Regions from separate parts of the Homo sapiens genome. Here regions 1 and 2 are each linked to region 3. Evidence: promoter capture Hi-C in 16 types of primary human blood cells and fetal thymus (Javierre and others, 2016). All regions are on one chromosome and are shown on one strand. The core of a region is centred on a gene start or on the middle of the fragment in contact, and the rest is flanking DNA. Distances in the headings are between cores, read along the strand shown. Region 1 holds the start of NOL10 (nucleolar protein 10). Region 2 holds the start of GREB1 (growth regulating estrogen receptor binding 1). Region 3 holds the start of CIMIP5 (ciliary microtubule inner protein 5).

Region 1 (2,700 bases), core at 23-2,522, 440 kb after region 3:
GTGGTGTTGGTATTTGAGAGTTTCCAAAATGTTGTGGGTAGGAGAGCAAAACAATAATATTTGGGTTTTAGAAAGTAAGGCATAAAATAATTTGTTCATTAAATCAAAGGAAGTAAGAAGATCACTTGGGAAAGTTATAATCCAAAAATAGTTAAGTATTTGAGTTTCAGCAGGAGGAATGAAAACAGATTACTTTAAGGAAATATTTCATAATTAGAAATATCCAGGTTTAGATACTGAAAGTGAGGGCCAGAGATAGGAATGGGTTGAAGATGACGCCACAGTCTTCTTTTTTTTTTTTTTTTTTTTTTGAGACGGAGTCTCACTCTGTTGCCCAGGCTGGACTGCAGTGGCACGATCTCAGCTGACGGCAACCTCTGCCTCCCGGGTTCAGGCGATTCCCCCACCTCAGCCTTCAGAGTAGCTGAGATTACAGGCGCGCGCCACCAGGCCCGACTGATTTTTGTATTTTTAGTAGAGACGGGGTTTCACCATCTTGGCTAGGCTGGTCTTGAACTCCTGACCTCAGGTGATCCGCCCGCCTCGGCCTCCCAAAGTGTTAGGATTACAGGCGTGAGCCACCGCACCCGGCCTACAGTACTTCTAACGTAACATCGCAGAAACACTGGAGGAGAGAAGAGAATACACTTCCACTCGGAATTCGCACCCTGGTCGCCTTCATTCGCTGGGTTCACTCGCTGAACTGCCTCGCCCCCGCCCGGGAGGATGACATCTCGGCCTGGGCAGAGACTCGAAAGCCTCCTCCTGCCGCTCGGGATGCTAACAGCAGGGAGAGCTGTGTCTAGTTTTTTTTTTTTTTTTTTTTTTTTTGAGAGGGAATCTCGCTCTGTCCCCCAGGCTGGAGTGCAGCGGCGCGATCTCAGCTCACTGCAACCTCCGCCTCCCAGGTTCAAGCAATTCTCCTGCCTCAACCTCCCGTGTAGCTGGGACTACAGATGCCGGCCACCACGCAAGGCTAATTTTTTTGTATTTTTAGTAGAGACGGGGTTTCACCATATTGGTCAGGCTGGTCTCGAACTCCCGACCTCAGGTGATCCGCCCGCCTCAGCCTCCCAAAGTGCTGGGATTACAGGCGTGAGCCACCGCGCCCGGCTTGTGTCTAGTCTTGCCCGTAGCAGCGTCGCCGACAGCCACGCCGGGTTGTCAGAGCCTCACTAGTTTTTCTCCCGGCCGCCGCTCTTCCCGGATTCAGCCACCTTCCCTCTTCCGGGAACTTGCCCGCGTGTTCCGGCTCCAGGAAGTGCGTCATCAGTCGGCGCCAGCGGCCGCACGCCGCGGAGCAGGGGCTCGGAGGTCCCGGGATTACGGTGCTCGAGCACGCTGGTGGGAAAGGACCCGGGACTTGAACAGTGTTGTGCGGCGCCATGCAGGTCTCCAGCCTCAATGAGGTGAAGATTTACAGCCTCAGCTGCGGCAAGTCCCTTCCTGAGGTGAGTCACTTCCCGGCCCCCTCACTCTCGAGCTCTTGGGGGTCGTCCTCCTCGTGGGGCAGCCGCCCCTCTCCTCGGCCCTAGCCTCTGTTTTAGCTGGACGCTGGTCACCCCCCGACTCGGGGAGGCCCAGAGGCGGCTGACAATTTCCGGGGGAGGTGTCGGCATTGGGAGACAAGGACACTGCCGTCACCGCGCCAGAAACTGGACCAAGGGATAATCAGGGTCAGTGAGCTTTGCTGGAACTTTTGTAAAGTTCTCTGTTCCAGAGAACGCAACCATTTGGGCCTCTTTGGGTGTTCACAGTCCCTGCCGTACATCGAGGAGGAAAACGTGGCAGATTCGTTGACACATCTCTCCCCCATATGGCCATCAGCTGTTTGTGGAGTCCCTATCATTTGCCAGGTCTTAGGGATACAACAGTGAACAAGGGAGATACAGACTTCGCATCTGCAGAATTTATGGTGTAGAGGACAGTATTTTCGAGACTTGTTGAACTTAACCTGATTCCTAGTCTTAAAGTTGGAGAGGGCTTGGACAAGTCGGTAATTCTCTTCCAATCTTCTCGTGTTTAGTAATGCAGCTGAGATTTAATAATGCGTTTAATATGCAGCTGAGATCCAGCAAGGGGAAGGGTGACTTGTCCAGCATGACACACTTAGGCTCTGAAACTTGTCTTTTGTTTCTTATACGTGATGATCCAGCCTCTGTCCAAGCACTACCACTGAGCACTACCTTTTGTGGAAGCTCATTTCCATTTTGAGACTCTGCACTTGTTAGAAAGTGGTTTTCAAATATGTCACCTTATAGCATGCCACTGTTGGCCTGAGTCCTGCCCTTGGAAAACAGAATAAATATAGCTCTCCTTCCATGCGTCTGCTTCTACAAAAATTTGGAGCCAGTGCTTAGGTTTTTCCTTTCTTCCTAAAATTCTGGTTTGAATAATTCCCTGTCTTCCAGTTGTTCTTCACACCCCATGAGCTTTCTCATTTTGTTCATTCATTCTCCACATGTATTGAGAAGTTACTGTGTGCAAGCAACTCTGTTTTAAGTATTGGGATCTATAGTGGACATTTCAGATAAGGTTCCCTGTTGGGGAAAAGGGAAATAAACAAGTGAGCAAATAAGGCAATTTAAGGTAGTCAAAAAGTACTTTTCGTGGTGAATGATTAGAAGAGAGCTGTTTTGGATAAAATATTGAGAGAAAGTGTTTTGGATAAAACCTTCGGGGAAGGCCTCTCTACAAGAG
Region 2 (2,838 bases), core at 125-2,624, 400 kb before region 3:
TGAATTAAAAATAAATAAATAAATAAATAAATAAGTGGGGTGAGGTATTTTAAGCCACAGTGATGAAAAGATGGAAGGGATGCCATTAGCTAACTAGAGGTTCAGGTTTCATAAACTTCCAGAAGCCAGACTAGAGAGGGAATGTGGAGCTGACACAGGAGAAGGGTGCATACCTGGGGGGACCAACTGGCCCTGAGGAAATGCAGAGACTCAGATACGCCAGACAAGTGTTGGGAGGAGTGCACAGCAGCGCTGGGACCAGGGGTCTTCTGTGAAATCCTGTCTACAGAGCAGGTAGCTCCTCTACCTCCCACCCCAGGGCCACATGCAGATCTCCCAGGAGCCAGGCGTTCACCCCAGGCAAAAAATACCGAAAGCTCTTCTGATACAAATTGAATCAACCAACAAGAACTAGAGCCGCTAACGCACAGTCTGGCATTCAGAGGCCTCCAGAATGCCAGCTGATTCTGTCCTGAGCACCCCAAAAGTGACACCTGCCAGACACCAGCGCCCCCTGTGGACACAACACTCCCAGTCAACCTTCTCTGCCTCACTCTTAAACACACATGAAAATCCAAGGGTCATGTAGCACTTAAGGAAGGAAACATGAAAACAACATCCAGGAGAAGAAACAGAAGAAAAGACACCAAAGCAATCAGAGAACAACCAGGTATATGTGAAGAAGAAGCACACATCCCCCTCTAATTACCATCCTCAGGAAGACTGAGGGCCACACTCTGTTTCCCAACCAACCCAATCACTGAGCCACTCAACAATCACACAAGAGGAGCTCTCACGGGTGAGCCTGTTGATCTGGCTTTACTGCTGAGGGGCCCCCAGGTAAACTGAAGAGCTGTGCAGAAAGGCTGGGGGTATGAAAGCCGCACGCTCCCCACTTCAGCACACAGGGTCAGCAAGAGTTGCAGTGATGTTCCCACATACAGTCAGTTCAGCTATAACGCTTGTTTTGAAACTGCAAATTTGTACGGACAGATTGACATATTACAGAACAATTTGAATACCTTGTGGGTTTTGTGTGTGCCTGGTGATTTCCTCTGCAAGAAACACAAAAGTAAGTTCAGAAAAATGGTGCCCAACTGACCCCAGCTGCTTGAGAATATACAAAAGGCGCACACACACCAGCCTCAAGCACCTACCACCTACCTCCAGTCACCACACGTGTTAAAAGCCATGTCCTTCCACACATGGTGTCAGAACTTTCCATAGGGCTCCAGGTCTCTGTCCTTCTTCCATTTGGCAGGTCCTCAAGAGCTGCAAGCCTTCCATTGAAAAAACTTTATTTCATTTACCTTTGCACTTTGAGGTAAAATCCCATCTCTACTGCAGTATTTATGTATCTCTTAACCATTTAGCATGTGTAAAACGGTGCTGCCCTTTTTATTAGGTTTTTATCTTTTTAAAAAATGTGTCATTGATGAAGTTTTTGAGAGCTGTTGCCCTAAGCCTGTATTCGTCATAAACCCTGCGGTTTTTATTGCCCAATCTTGCATGGTGCAATAATTTTTAGGAACACATATATCAAGTTATAGTAGAATTGATTATGTGTTTACATTTCTGCCTGCAAGCTACAATTTTCTCCTAGGGGAGAACATGGCGGGAGAGCATGGTGTGCAGATTCTAGTTTAGAAAATATGGTCCACACAACTGAATTTCACACCAGTCACCCCTAGTTCATTGTTTCTGGCTACCCCAAAACGTTCATCACCGGCTTGCCTTTCTCCCTGCACTAAGCTAGAATCTCAAAGAACCAATTGTTGGGTTTTGTTGGTAGCAATCTGTGTATCATCCATTTTTTCCTCCATCAAACACAAAATTAAATTCAAGCATAAATAATGAAATTGTTGTTCCCGGCTTCTGTTTACAGAGTCTCAGGGACGCTGTGGAGCTGGGTGTGCCTGGGTCCAGTCCCTGCCCCCTCACCCACCGGAGCTGTGTGACCTTGGACAGCCTCCCTCACTCCCTGAGCTCCAGTTTCCTCAGCCATAAACAGAGATAACAGTGCTGACTTCAAAGCTGACTTTGTGAGGATTAAATGAGATAATGTAGTAGAGTATTTAGTACTGTGGCTGGCACTTCAGTGTTTTCCCATTTATCTGTTTTTTTCAAGATGAGTGATCTCTTTGCTGATCATAAACATATTCCTCCATCTGTCTTGTGTTATTCGCCTGCATTGAAATCCCATCCCAATCCCCGTCTCTATTTGAAAGTGGAGCTTAAAAATTGCAAAAATGAATAATTGGGATGTGCAAAACCTCTTAACTTGTAGCACCAAGTTTTTTGTCTCATGTTGATCAGTCTCTCTCTTCTTGCATTTCTCTCCCATTAGTTTGGAGTTGCCATTCATTCCTTCATTTATTCATTCACTCAACAAACATTTATGGGTGCCTGGTATCTACTGGCTATGTGACTGACTTAACTTCCCAGAGCCTCAGTTTTCTTGGCAAAATGAAGATAATAATACCTCTATCATAAGGTTGTTGGAAGGCTTTCCATGACACCAGGACCGTAAAGCACCTTTTACACCGTCTGCCATATGGCAGGTGCTCAACAAAGGATATCTTTAAGCAGTATCATCACGATGACAATGGACAAGCCATATCCCTAACAGGGCTTAAACCTGGATAACAAGAACACTGTTTCCACTGCGCTAGTGGGGACAAGCACACACATCGCTGGGAAGATCTGCAAGCCTCCCTCCTCCCACAGACCCAAACATGCTGCTGCAAATGTCTCACTGGCTACAAAACAATGAGTCTGATTACGACCCACAGAAATGAAAAGGCAGCAAACTTGTTTAGGTATGATTCATCATTGTCT
Region 3 (2,700 bases), core at 108-2,607:
ATGGGGCGTTGCTAATCAACGGGTATGAAGTTTCAGTGGTGCAAGATGAATGCATCCTAGAATCTATCAGGCTGCTCACTTAAAAATGTAATCGAGATCATGCCATGTTCCCGCTTAAAATCCTGGATGGTGTCTCCTTTGGAAAAAATGCATCCAGACTTTTATAAGGGCTGGGGTGGCCCCCGCTGCTCCCCCTCATCCTGTGGCCTTCCTCACTCCCTGTGCCTCAGCTACACGAATTCTTTGTTTTGTTTTTTAGATACATCAAACTCTTGGCTCCTTCTCCTATTTCATGTCTCAGCTTAAATGTCTCCTCCTCAGAGAGGCCTTCAGCCGGCTCTGCCCCCGACCCTGAACTGTTTCCTTCTTACCGCTGGTCACACTTCATACAGATTTGTACTTGTTTGCTTCTCTGCTTGCTTTTTGGCTGCCCTGTCCTGAGTATGAAGGCTCGGTGGAGCCATGGCCAGGTCTGTCTAGTCCCTTGTTGCAGTCTGGTCTCGTTTCAGAGCGGCTCATGGGTATTTTTGGTTGAATGAATGCATGAAGGAGCATCCTTTCCCCGAGTCAGGTCAGACAGCCAGCTCCTCTAACCCAGACTAGGCCAGCAGGCTCCAGCTCAAGGGATTACCGGCCGCGTCGCAGTCGGAATGAACGAGGTGGGGCTGCTCTGACCCAGCGGCATCTGGTCTTGGCTTCCATCTTCCTCGCTTCTTAGGCTCAGGCTCGGGTCTGGCTCTGGGCTGGGCTGGTGACCCACCTTCCCCCGGGCATGCCATGCCCTCTGTCCCTCAGCCAGATCATTTGCCCTCCCATCTCCCTTTCTCCAAAACCTTCCCCAACTTGCAGTCAGGCTGCGGAGTCAGGGTGGAAAAGGGAGGGCAGGTACTCACCAGCGCTGCTGGCCCCGCCGCTCGGCCTCCAGGAGCTCCCGCCACAGCTGGTCCTGCTGCACGCCATCGCAGGCAGCTCCCTGAGCCACCCGCTGCGCCTTCAGAGCCTGGGGGGCCTGGCAGCCACCAGCAAGACCCCTGCTGGCCATAGGGCCACCCCGGGCAGCTGGGGAGACCGAGGCTGGTGGCCTGGTGGGGGGCAATCGGTACCCAGCTGATGTGGTTCTCTGGAGCCCAGGGGTGGGGTGGCTCCCCATGGTGCAAGTGTGTGTGTGTGTGTGCGCTTGTGTCAGAGAGAGAGAGAGAGAGACCTGTGCCTGAGCTCAGCTCAAACCTCCTCCTGGAACACTCTGTCCCTCCTAACCCCGGGAGAGCCTGGGCAGGGTCCTCCTCACTGTCCCTTTAGGCCTCGAGCTCAGAGTGGCCGATGGGGACAGGGCTCTCCGGGCTGGGGAGAGCATTTGAGCCCAGTTTCGTTTTGAACTCCCGCCTGTGCTGTGTTGACTGTTGTCCTGGGAACGGACAGCTCCTAGGAAAGGGGCGGGCCCCGTGTGTGTGTGTGTGTGTGTGTGTGTGTGTGTGTGTGTGTGTGTGATCTGAGCCCTAGGGCTGGGGGGCAGAGAGTTCCTGACTAGATGCCACGCCCAGTTCAGCAGCCCCCTACCCCAAGGCCGGAGTCCTCCGCACAGGGTGGGGGAGGGGGAGGGAGCAAAGCTGGGGCTCCTGGGGGCCACCCCCACCATTATTGCACTTGCTTCCGGCAGCCCGTCAGGCCGTGGGGCGATGTTAGTCCTGTGCTGCCCCCTCGTGGATGCTGCGAGGCTCGCAAGAAATGGTGGCCCTGAGGGCGCTTTGGGAATTGTGGATCAGGCATCAGTGTGAAGCTTCCTGCTTGTTTGGGAACGATGGCGGAAGTCATGAGCTTATGTTGGGCGAGGAAAATGAGTGCAATGCACTAGGAACATCCACTCTGTCTGCAAACCCAGAGCGTTCACACAGCACTCTGCTTTATCTGAGACCTCCCAGCCATGCCTTTCCAACGCCATTCTACAGATGAGGAAACTGAGGCCCTTACCGGCAAGATTAAGTGACCGCCCACGGTCACACAGTCAGTCACCAGCTGAAAGGAACAGTGAGAATCTGAGGGCTTATGGTCCGAGCCCTCAGCCCTGTTTCTGCTCTAACTGGGTACAACCAGGCTCCCTCCGTGGCAGCCTCTCCTGGTCTGGCTCAGCTGAGCTCCATGGACGCCCGCTGCTCTCATCACTTCTGCCTCCTGCACTCTCTGCTTCCGGTTCTCTGAGTTTTGTGCTGTTCCGGTAGGTGCTGGCAGATTCACAGTTCCTTCCACGCAGCTTCTCTGTGGGTCCATTCAGCTGGCGCGCTGCTTCCTATCTTTGTAAGGGAAGAGCTAAGTGCAGACAAAGCCCTGACGAATAGAGGCCTGCGCAGAGTGCCCGGGGTGCAGGGCAGCAGGGCAGCCAGTGAACCACTGAGCTCGCACTGTAGCCAGTCCTGTGTGCCCCTGCTGGATTCTGCTTCTATGAGGGAGGCAGCAAGGAGTTGGGACTTCACAGGTGAAAGGACTTGCCAGGTAGAAAAACTGGGGTGACCACAAAAGCTTGGATGCAAGAGAGAGCCTGGTATTTTGGGAGATGTGGGGGAGGAGACAAGGACGGGGGTGGCAGGGCACATGGGGGCAGGCCCCGGGGTATTTTCCACGGTATCCTGCACCCAGTGGGGAGATACCGATGGGCTGTGAGCCCCAAGGGAGCTGCAGGGAACAGAACCATCAGGACAGGGGCAA

The links. Contacts are between HindIII fragments. The CHiCAGO score rates a contact against its expected background, and 5 or more counts as called.
Region 1: a contact is called between the fragment with the promoter of NOL10 here and the fragment with the promoter of CIMIP5 in region 3, in 2 of 17 cell types (M0 macrophages and non-activated CD4 T cells). The highest score is 7.3, in M0 macrophages.
Region 2: the fragment with the promoter of GREB1 here is called in contact with the fragment with the promoter of CIMIP5 in region 3 in 9 of 17 cell types (M0 macrophages, erythroblasts, megakaryocytes and 6 more); the score reaches 9.9 in M0 macrophages.

Annotation. Positions count from the first base shown.
Region 1 is chr2:10,688,547-10,691,246 of GRCh38, reverse strand. It overlaps NOL10 (nucleolar protein 10), which reads left to right and starts at 1,272. Exons shown (of 21, transcript NM_024894.4): 1 at 1,272-1,451. The coding sequence starts at 1,386. It also overlaps the pseudogene RN7SL832P. RefSeq lists enhancers at 1,426-1,705, 1,766-1,825. The HindIII fragment of the contact is 7,879 bases long and covers 1-2,700 here.
Region 2 is chr2:11,532,581-11,535,418 of GRCh38, reverse strand. It overlaps GREB1 (growth regulating estrogen receptor binding 1), which reads right to left and starts at 1,374. Exons shown (of 33, transcript NM_014668.4): 1 at 1,165-1,374. The HindIII fragment of the contact is 4,942 bases long and covers 1-2,838 here.
Region 3 is chr2:11,131,785-11,134,484 of GRCh38, reverse strand. CIMIP5 (ciliary microtubule inner protein 5) reads right to left here and starts at 1,357. Exons shown (of 3, transcript NM_001371321.1): 1 at 894-1,357. The coding sequence starts at 1,150. FLJ33534 (Putative uncharacterized protein FLJ33534) reads left to right here and starts at 2,309. Exons shown (of 9, transcript NR_040080.1): 1 at 2,309-2,470. The HindIII fragment of the contact is 3,513 bases long and covers 1-1,779 here.